Linked DNA regions of Homo sapiens: region 1 is linked to region 2. Evidence: promoter capture Hi-C in 16 types of primary human blood cells and fetal thymus (Javierre and others, 2016). All regions are on one chromosome and are shown on one strand. The core of a region is centred on a gene start or on the middle of the fragment in contact, and the rest is flanking DNA. Distances in the headings are between cores, read along the strand shown. Region 1 has its middle 6.5 kb from the start of TMEM177. Region 2 holds the start of NIFK (nucleolar protein interacting with the FHA domain of MKI67).

Evidence for each region. Contacts are between HindIII fragments. The CHiCAGO score rates a contact against its expected background, and 5 or more counts as called.
Region 1: a fragment that was not itself captured here is called in contact with the fragment with the promoter of NIFK in region 2 in 1 of 17 cell types (naive CD8 T cells); the score reaches 5.5 in naive CD8 T cells.

Annotation. Positions count from the first base shown.
Region 1 is chr2:119,671,100-119,674,302 of GRCh38, reverse strand. No RefSeq gene overlaps it. Among named protein-coding and RNA genes, the nearest start is that of TMEM177, 6.5 kb to the left of the region's middle. The HindIII fragment of the contact is 759 bases long and covers 1,543-2,301 here.
Region 2 is chr2:121,734,785-121,738,467 of GRCh38, reverse strand. NIFK (nucleolar protein interacting with the FHA domain of MKI67) reads left to right here and starts at 1,593. Exons shown (of 7, transcript NM_032390.5): 1 at 1,593-1,722; 2 at 2,718-2,855. The coding sequence starts at 1,618. RefSeq lists a silencer at 1,107-1,556 and an enhancer at 1,657-1,706. The HindIII fragment of the contact is 3,379 bases long and covers 1-1,893 here.

The DNA.
Region 1 (3,203 bases), core at 673-3,172, 2.1 Mb after region 2:
GTGCTGGAATTACAGGTGTGAGCCACTGTGCCTGGCAGGGATAAAGACTTATCTTACCAGAGTTAAAAAAAAAAAAAAAGGTAGGGTAGGGGGTTCTTAGCTAAGGTGGTAAGGGAAGGCCTCTCCGAAAAGGGTATGTCTATGCTGAAACCTGAGTGAGGGGAAGCATGAGAGGGCTGTATGTGTGGAAAATGTCCTCAGCAGAGGAAATGGCCAGGTCCAAGGCCCAAGGGCAGGAATGGGATTGTGGGCCCAGGGGGCAGAAAGTCCAGTGTGGCTGGATGAGAGGGAAGCCTGAGGGGAAGGTGGGAGGGGACTTTGGGGAGGTGGGCAGGGGCTGGACTGCCACAGTCTTGTAAGCTGGAGTGAGGTCCTTGCATGTTATTCTAATGGCAATGGCAGGTCACTGGTGACCTAGATGAGAGCTGATCTGTGAGGTGAGCAGGAATGTTCGAATGGTTGAAGAGAGAATGGGCAGTGAGGAATATGGACCACTCTTCTGGCTGTGAAGAGGAGTAAAGATGGGGTGATGGTTCAAGGTGCACATGGGGTGCAAGGAGGGCTTCGTTTGTTTTGTTTGTTGCCAGAGAGAGGGACCACTGCAGGAAGGTTCTCCATGGGTAGGTAAGAGGGGATGGGTCCGGGGTAGGGAGGAGGAGGGGGGTCAGGAGCACTTCCTCACTGTAACGGGAGGGAAGCTATGGTCAATGGGCCCAGGCTGGTGAAGTCGTGCTGGGAAGAGAGGTTGTCCTTATTGGATGCTGCTTCTTTTTCCCAGTGATCTATGGAGTGAGGTCATCAGGTGAAAGTGCAGTGGGGACAGAGTAGGGAGGGAGTGGTGAAGGTTTGAAGAAAGCAGAAGAGATGTACATTTCTAGGTGAGGAAAAGAAAGACCTTTCTACCAGGAAAATGAAATGATTGTTGTGTACCGTTGAGTGCCCATTTGGGATCTGGGACAAAACCACAACGTTGGTGAGACAAGTTAGTATGGTTGTGTGATTCTTTCCAACAATGTTGGGATGCTCAGGTACAAGAATAAATAGATGGATAGTTGGGTTTAATTAGAGCTGGGTTTGCCAGTCAAGTACAAAGTGGAGAGAAAGGGGCAAGGTTGGTGAGGGTGTTTGCAAAGAAGTGATGACATAGTGATGGACCATGAACTCTCAGCCAGCAGGGAGGACAGTGAGGGCCTGTGGGGTGTCTATTTTACTTAACACCTAAATGTTACACACCATGTGCCCTGTGCTGCTCCTAAGCACTTTGTTCCTAGACACTTTGCAGAAGGAAGAGATAGCGAGATCATTGGCCTGGTGGAACATAAGGAATGTTCTAATGGGGTCACCATAGTAAGCCAGGTAGAAGTATAAGGAGGTGAGTACAGGGTGGGTGGGAGTCTTGAAATGGACCTTTCAGAGGTGGTATCCATTTGGTGATGACAAGGTCAAGGGCATGTCTGCGGGAGCTGCGGTGAGGTGGAAGAGAAGATGATTAAAAGTTAGGGGGTATATTAATCATTTTTATTTTCTATATTTTATGAAGCTTTGACATCTGGGAGGCCTTACTAATCCTGGAAAGACTGCCCCTCCCAGGGCACTGGTTCCTAGTGATGGCGAATGACTCTCCCATGAGCACGCCTTTCATATGCAAACCAACCAATCCACAGCCCATACCCCAACCACCTCTTTTATTTACTTTTCACACTCCAAGTCAGTATTCTCCTGGCTCTAAATATCCCCAGGATTAGGTACTGGACAACTGGAGAATACCCCTATCCTCCACAGCCCACTGAAAGCATCTTAACTACCCAATCCTACGCTTGCTTCAGTGTGACTACCCTGCCTTGCCTATTCCTTCAAAAAACCACAATGAAGCCTCTGGGCCATGCCTTCCCCTGGCTCCTTCTGCCTCCCTCCTGACTGACCTGGTGTTTCCCCAGGTGGGTGGCTCTGTGTGGCATGGTGTGCCTCCCTCCTCTCAGGAACTGCAAGTAATAAACTATTCTTTCAGTGGCATTGGCCACTGGGGAAAGGGGGAGTGGTAAAGATCAGGGATCACACCACAGCACTGAAACAATTCAAGAATGAGAGGAAGCAACCAGGAAGCTGGTAGATAGCAGCAAGGATGGGGGGTACTGGAATGGTCTGGTGGCATGCGTTTCAAAGGAGCTGGGGTATGTATAGGAGGAAATGGCTGTGGGGAGAAAAGGGAACATGCATTCTGCCCTGATTTCAGGGGAATATGGGGAAGAAAGTGACTTCACTGGAGAGGGCTGTGGTGTCCTCAGCAAAGACAGCCAAGCTTTGCGGAGAGCAAGCAAACGAGAGGAGGTGGGGCGGGGGTTTACTGATGATGGACCAAGCCTGCCAAAGTCACAGTGAAACGGCCCTGGGAGGCCTGCAAGGGTGAGTGACCGGGGCTAGATTAGGGGATAAACAGGAAATGAATACATGGATAAGCCCCCAGGAAACCATGGTTGACACAGCATAAGATGGGTTTAAAAAATTTCTTGGGGGGCTTTTGGACATAAAAGGAATACTTAAGAGTTACTAACATTTTCAGTACTGTATTAAAGCAGTAAGTTTGAATACCCTATGTCTCTTAAACCTAAAGTGCCAATTTACAAATATTGTCATCTTATTAATAAGTCCAGTAATTTTTGTATAAAAAATGAGATTTTTTTCTACTTGTCTTTGATTAACATTCAGTTAATTCCTAGGGTTTACAGATTAAATCTTTCTTAATTATACTGTACCACTTCTGTACTTAATTGATCAAATTTCCTTAGACATTTCAAACCACACTTTCAAATTTAATTTAGCTGATTCTCTTAAATATGTTAACCTGCTGTATTAGTCAGGGTTCTCCAGAGAAACAGAACCAGTAGAATATGTGTGCATGCACACGGGTGTGTGTGTGTGAGTGTGTGTGTGTGCGTGCAAATGTTTATTTAAAGAGACATTATAAGGAATTGGCTCATGCAATTATGGACACTGAGAAGACTCAAGATTTGCAGCTGGCAAGCTGGAAACCCAAGAGGGCTGATGGTGTAGTTCCAGTCTGAGTCCAAAGTGCTAAAAAGGCAGGAGAGCCAAGGCTGAGGCTGAGTCAGAAGGCAGGAGAAGACTGATGTCCCAGTTCTAAGACAGTCAGGCAGAGCAGGAGAATTCCTTCTCACTGTGCCTTTGGTTCTATTCTGGCCTTC
Region 2 (3,683 bases), core at 344-2,843:
ACTTTGGGAGGCCGAGGCGGGTAGATCACTTAAGGTCAGGGGTTCTCGACCAGCCTGGCCAAAATGGCGAAACCTCGTTTCTACTAAAAATACAAAAATTAGCCGGGAGTAGTGGTGTGCACCTGTAGTCCCAGCTAGTCGGGAGGCTGAGGAAGGAGAATTGCTTGAACCCAGGAGGCGGAGGTTGCAGTGAGTGAGCCAAAATCGCGCCACTGCACTCCAGCCTGGACGACAGAACGAGACTCCGTCTCAAAAAAAAAAAAAGAAAAGAAAGATGCAAACAGCCACAGCCTCGCTTTAAACCCGCCCATCCCCTCGCATTTACAAAACCCCAGTTTCATACTTTGACACACAGTCATGGGGCTCCAGCCTGCCGCCTCGCAGCTCTTCCCTCCTGTGCTGGGCTCCAACCCCACTGCCGCGTCCTTCTTTCTAGACCTAGGAACACTGTGCAGGCCTGTCCGGTCCAGCGGACGGCAGGCGCTCGGTTCTCCACACCCCGCTCTTTAGCCTTCAGGCCTCGGTGCTAACGCCACCTCCTAAGGGGGACCCTCCGGCGCCACCCAGTGTGCCTCTCCCCCACAAGCCTCTTTGGTCTCTTAAAGCAGCCATGCTGCCCTCAGGCTGTAAGTTCTCCAAGGGCCGCGGACGGACGGGGCCACACAGGAGAGCTCACACACAAGTGAGTGAAAGAATAACCAAATTAGGGCCGGGCGCGGTGGCTCACGCCTGTTATCCCAGTACTTTGGGAGGCTGAGGCGGGTGGATCACCTGAGGTCAGGAGTTCGAGACCAGCCTGGCCAACATGGTGAAACCCCGTTTCTACTAAACATACAAATTAAGCTGGGAGTGGTAACGTACAAATTAAGCTGGGAGTGGTGGCGGGCGCCTGTAATCAGCTACTCGGAAGACTGAGGCAGGAGAATCGCTTGAACCCGGGAGGCGGAAGTTGGAAGTTGCAGTGAGCCGAGATTGCGCCATTGCACTCCAGCCTGGGCAACCAAAGCGAAACTCTGTCTCAAAAAAAAATAATAATAATAATAAGCAAATTGAGGAATGAGAGCAGCATCTCAAGGACACAGGTACTGTTTTGGAATTTATTTTAGACCTTTTTTGAAAGTAGGCGTGAACGTAATTGTTTCAGGCACTCTTAAGCGAAGCCAGCCGGCGCCCCGACAGCCGAGGGTGCGGGAGCTCCCCACGGCCCAGCCCCAGCCCCAGACCCCGCTGCCGCGCCTCGGCACGCCCCTGCGCCCCGCCTCCGCGCCTCGGCGCTACTCACGCCCCGCCCTCCGCTCCTCGTCACGCCCCATGTCGCGCCTCCGCGCGACTCACGCCTCTCCCAGTCTCTCGGCACGACCTCGTGCCCCGCCCTCGCCCCTGGCGCAATTTATGCCCCGCCCCGCGCCTCGCCACACCCCGTGCCCCGCCCCCGCTTCTCCGGGCAACTCCTGCTCCAACCCCGCGCCCGACTCATGGCCCTCCCCGCCCCTCGCCACGCCTCGCCTCGCCTTAGCGCTTCGCCCCGCCCCTGTCCTGCCTCTACTTCCGCCTCGGGGGAGCTGGGAGCCCGACGTTTCCGGGAGCGCCGCGTGGTTAGCGTCGGCGGCTTTTGGCATGGCGACTTTTTCTGGCCCGGCTGGGCCAATCCTGTCGCTTAATCCGCAGGAAGATGTCGAGTTTCAAAAGGAGGTGGCGCAGGTTCGCAAGCGCATAACCCAGGTGAGCAGGCACCCTGGCCCAGGCTGCGAGCGGGGGCGATGGACCGGGTCTAGAGGGTATCTGGGGTTGCACGGTTTCCGGCCCGGGCGCCCCTTGCCTTCGTGCTCGCCTTCATTACCTCCAGGGTCTCCCAAGTGGATTCGACCGAATCAGGGACCGACCTCTTAAGCTTGCAGGCCACGGTTTCCGAGACGAAAGGGTTTACGCTGTTCGGTAAATGATGGAGGGGTTTGGCCGCTGAGGCCCTGGAGCCTTCATGTGGAGGGTAACGGGGAAGTATTGGGGTGACAGAAGCAGTAGAAAGAACCAGCTGGAGGGAATAGGCTCCTATACCACAGGTTATCTCCGGGTTAGAGCTGTCACGCTTCCGCGTTTCCCCCAAAAATGGGAGCCCCAGACTTAACACATTCGGGAAGTTTGTATGCCGGGTTGGTGATCTGGGAGTTATTAAAATAGAGTATTTGCCAGGTTCCACTTGCTGACTAGGGCCCCTGACATCGCTTATACTTTCTGTGGTTTTTAGCATAAAATACACAGGAAAACTTAGAAGTTCCTGTTACAGAGGTAAGGCTATGATGACTGAGACGTTGAAAGGCTAATCTGTACCGTGAGAGTTAACAAGCGTATCGAAAATTTTTCGATGAAGTGCGAGTAAACAGTAATATGCATACCAAATTGAAGCCTACGTTTATGTAGAGTTCTCTGGGCAGAAGATCTAAAATGGCTTGTTCAAAGATGTCCTTGCTTATCCGTTGATTGACATAGTTATTGAGCTCTAATATTATACTGGGTGCTGGGATGCCAGGCTGGAAAGATAGTTGACTACTGCTTGACCATGGCCTTTGTGGGGAGAGAAACACTAAACAGCCAGTTCTTTAATTACTACTGTGGTAAGTGGAAATGCAGAATAGGTTCTTGGGCCGAGGGCTAGGGGTTTTGTTACAATGTGATTTTCTTATTTATATATTTAATTTACCTGGTCTTTACGTCTTTAGCGAAAAAAACAAGAACAACTTACTCCTGGAGTAGTCTATGTGCGCCACCTACCTAACCTACTTGACGAAACCCAGATCTTTTCATATTTCTCCCAGTTTGGCACTGTGACACGGTTCAGGCTGTCCAGAAGTAAAAGGGTAAGATTTTTGCAGTTGGATTTAATGTTTTGTTTTTCAAATGTGTATTATCCTTGACATTAAAGAGCACGTTCACGCATACATTATTGCTTATCAGATTTCATTCCAAAAAGGAGAGTGGAGGAGGTTTAGAATCTGAAACAGCTACAGGAGCAAAATCAGTATTATTGTAAAAGTTTGTTTTTTACATTTCTCCAAATCCTTACATTAAATTGACAGTCCTGGTAAATGAGCTTTAGTATGAGGCCCAGGTTTATACATTTTCTTGTGTTAGCCTTTGGTACAAGCATCCTTATAATAGCAAAGGTTTATATAGTGAATAGTTAAAGGTGAGGACTCTGGAGTTGGACTGCTGAGGTTTGGGGTCAGGCTCTACACCTTACTAGTTAGAGTGATATGACCTTACCATGTTTCAGTGTTGTGATCTGTTAAATATAAGTAAAACTTCCTGGGAGTATTTAGTCAAAGGTTAAATATAAAGTCTTTAGAGGATTGCTTGGTACACAATAAACACTATATAAGTATAATTACTATTTGTGTCATACCTGCCTTCTAATGAGAAAACGCTTTACATAGCTTGTTTCAATAGTGGAGGAGTGACCCACTTTCTTTTCTTTCCCCGCACATAAACTTTAATTGGTTGTAGCCATAGACACCTATTTGATTTAGCATGTGGGGGATAGGGTGCACATCCATCATCTGTTAGTTGTCGTAAAGATAGATTGTAGGTAGAATTGAGGTCCCTTTTGTACCCTTCCCAGTGCTCTTCAACTTCTTTAATTAGGGAATTAAATTCACAAATTCAGTTTTCTTTTTTTTGAGACTGAG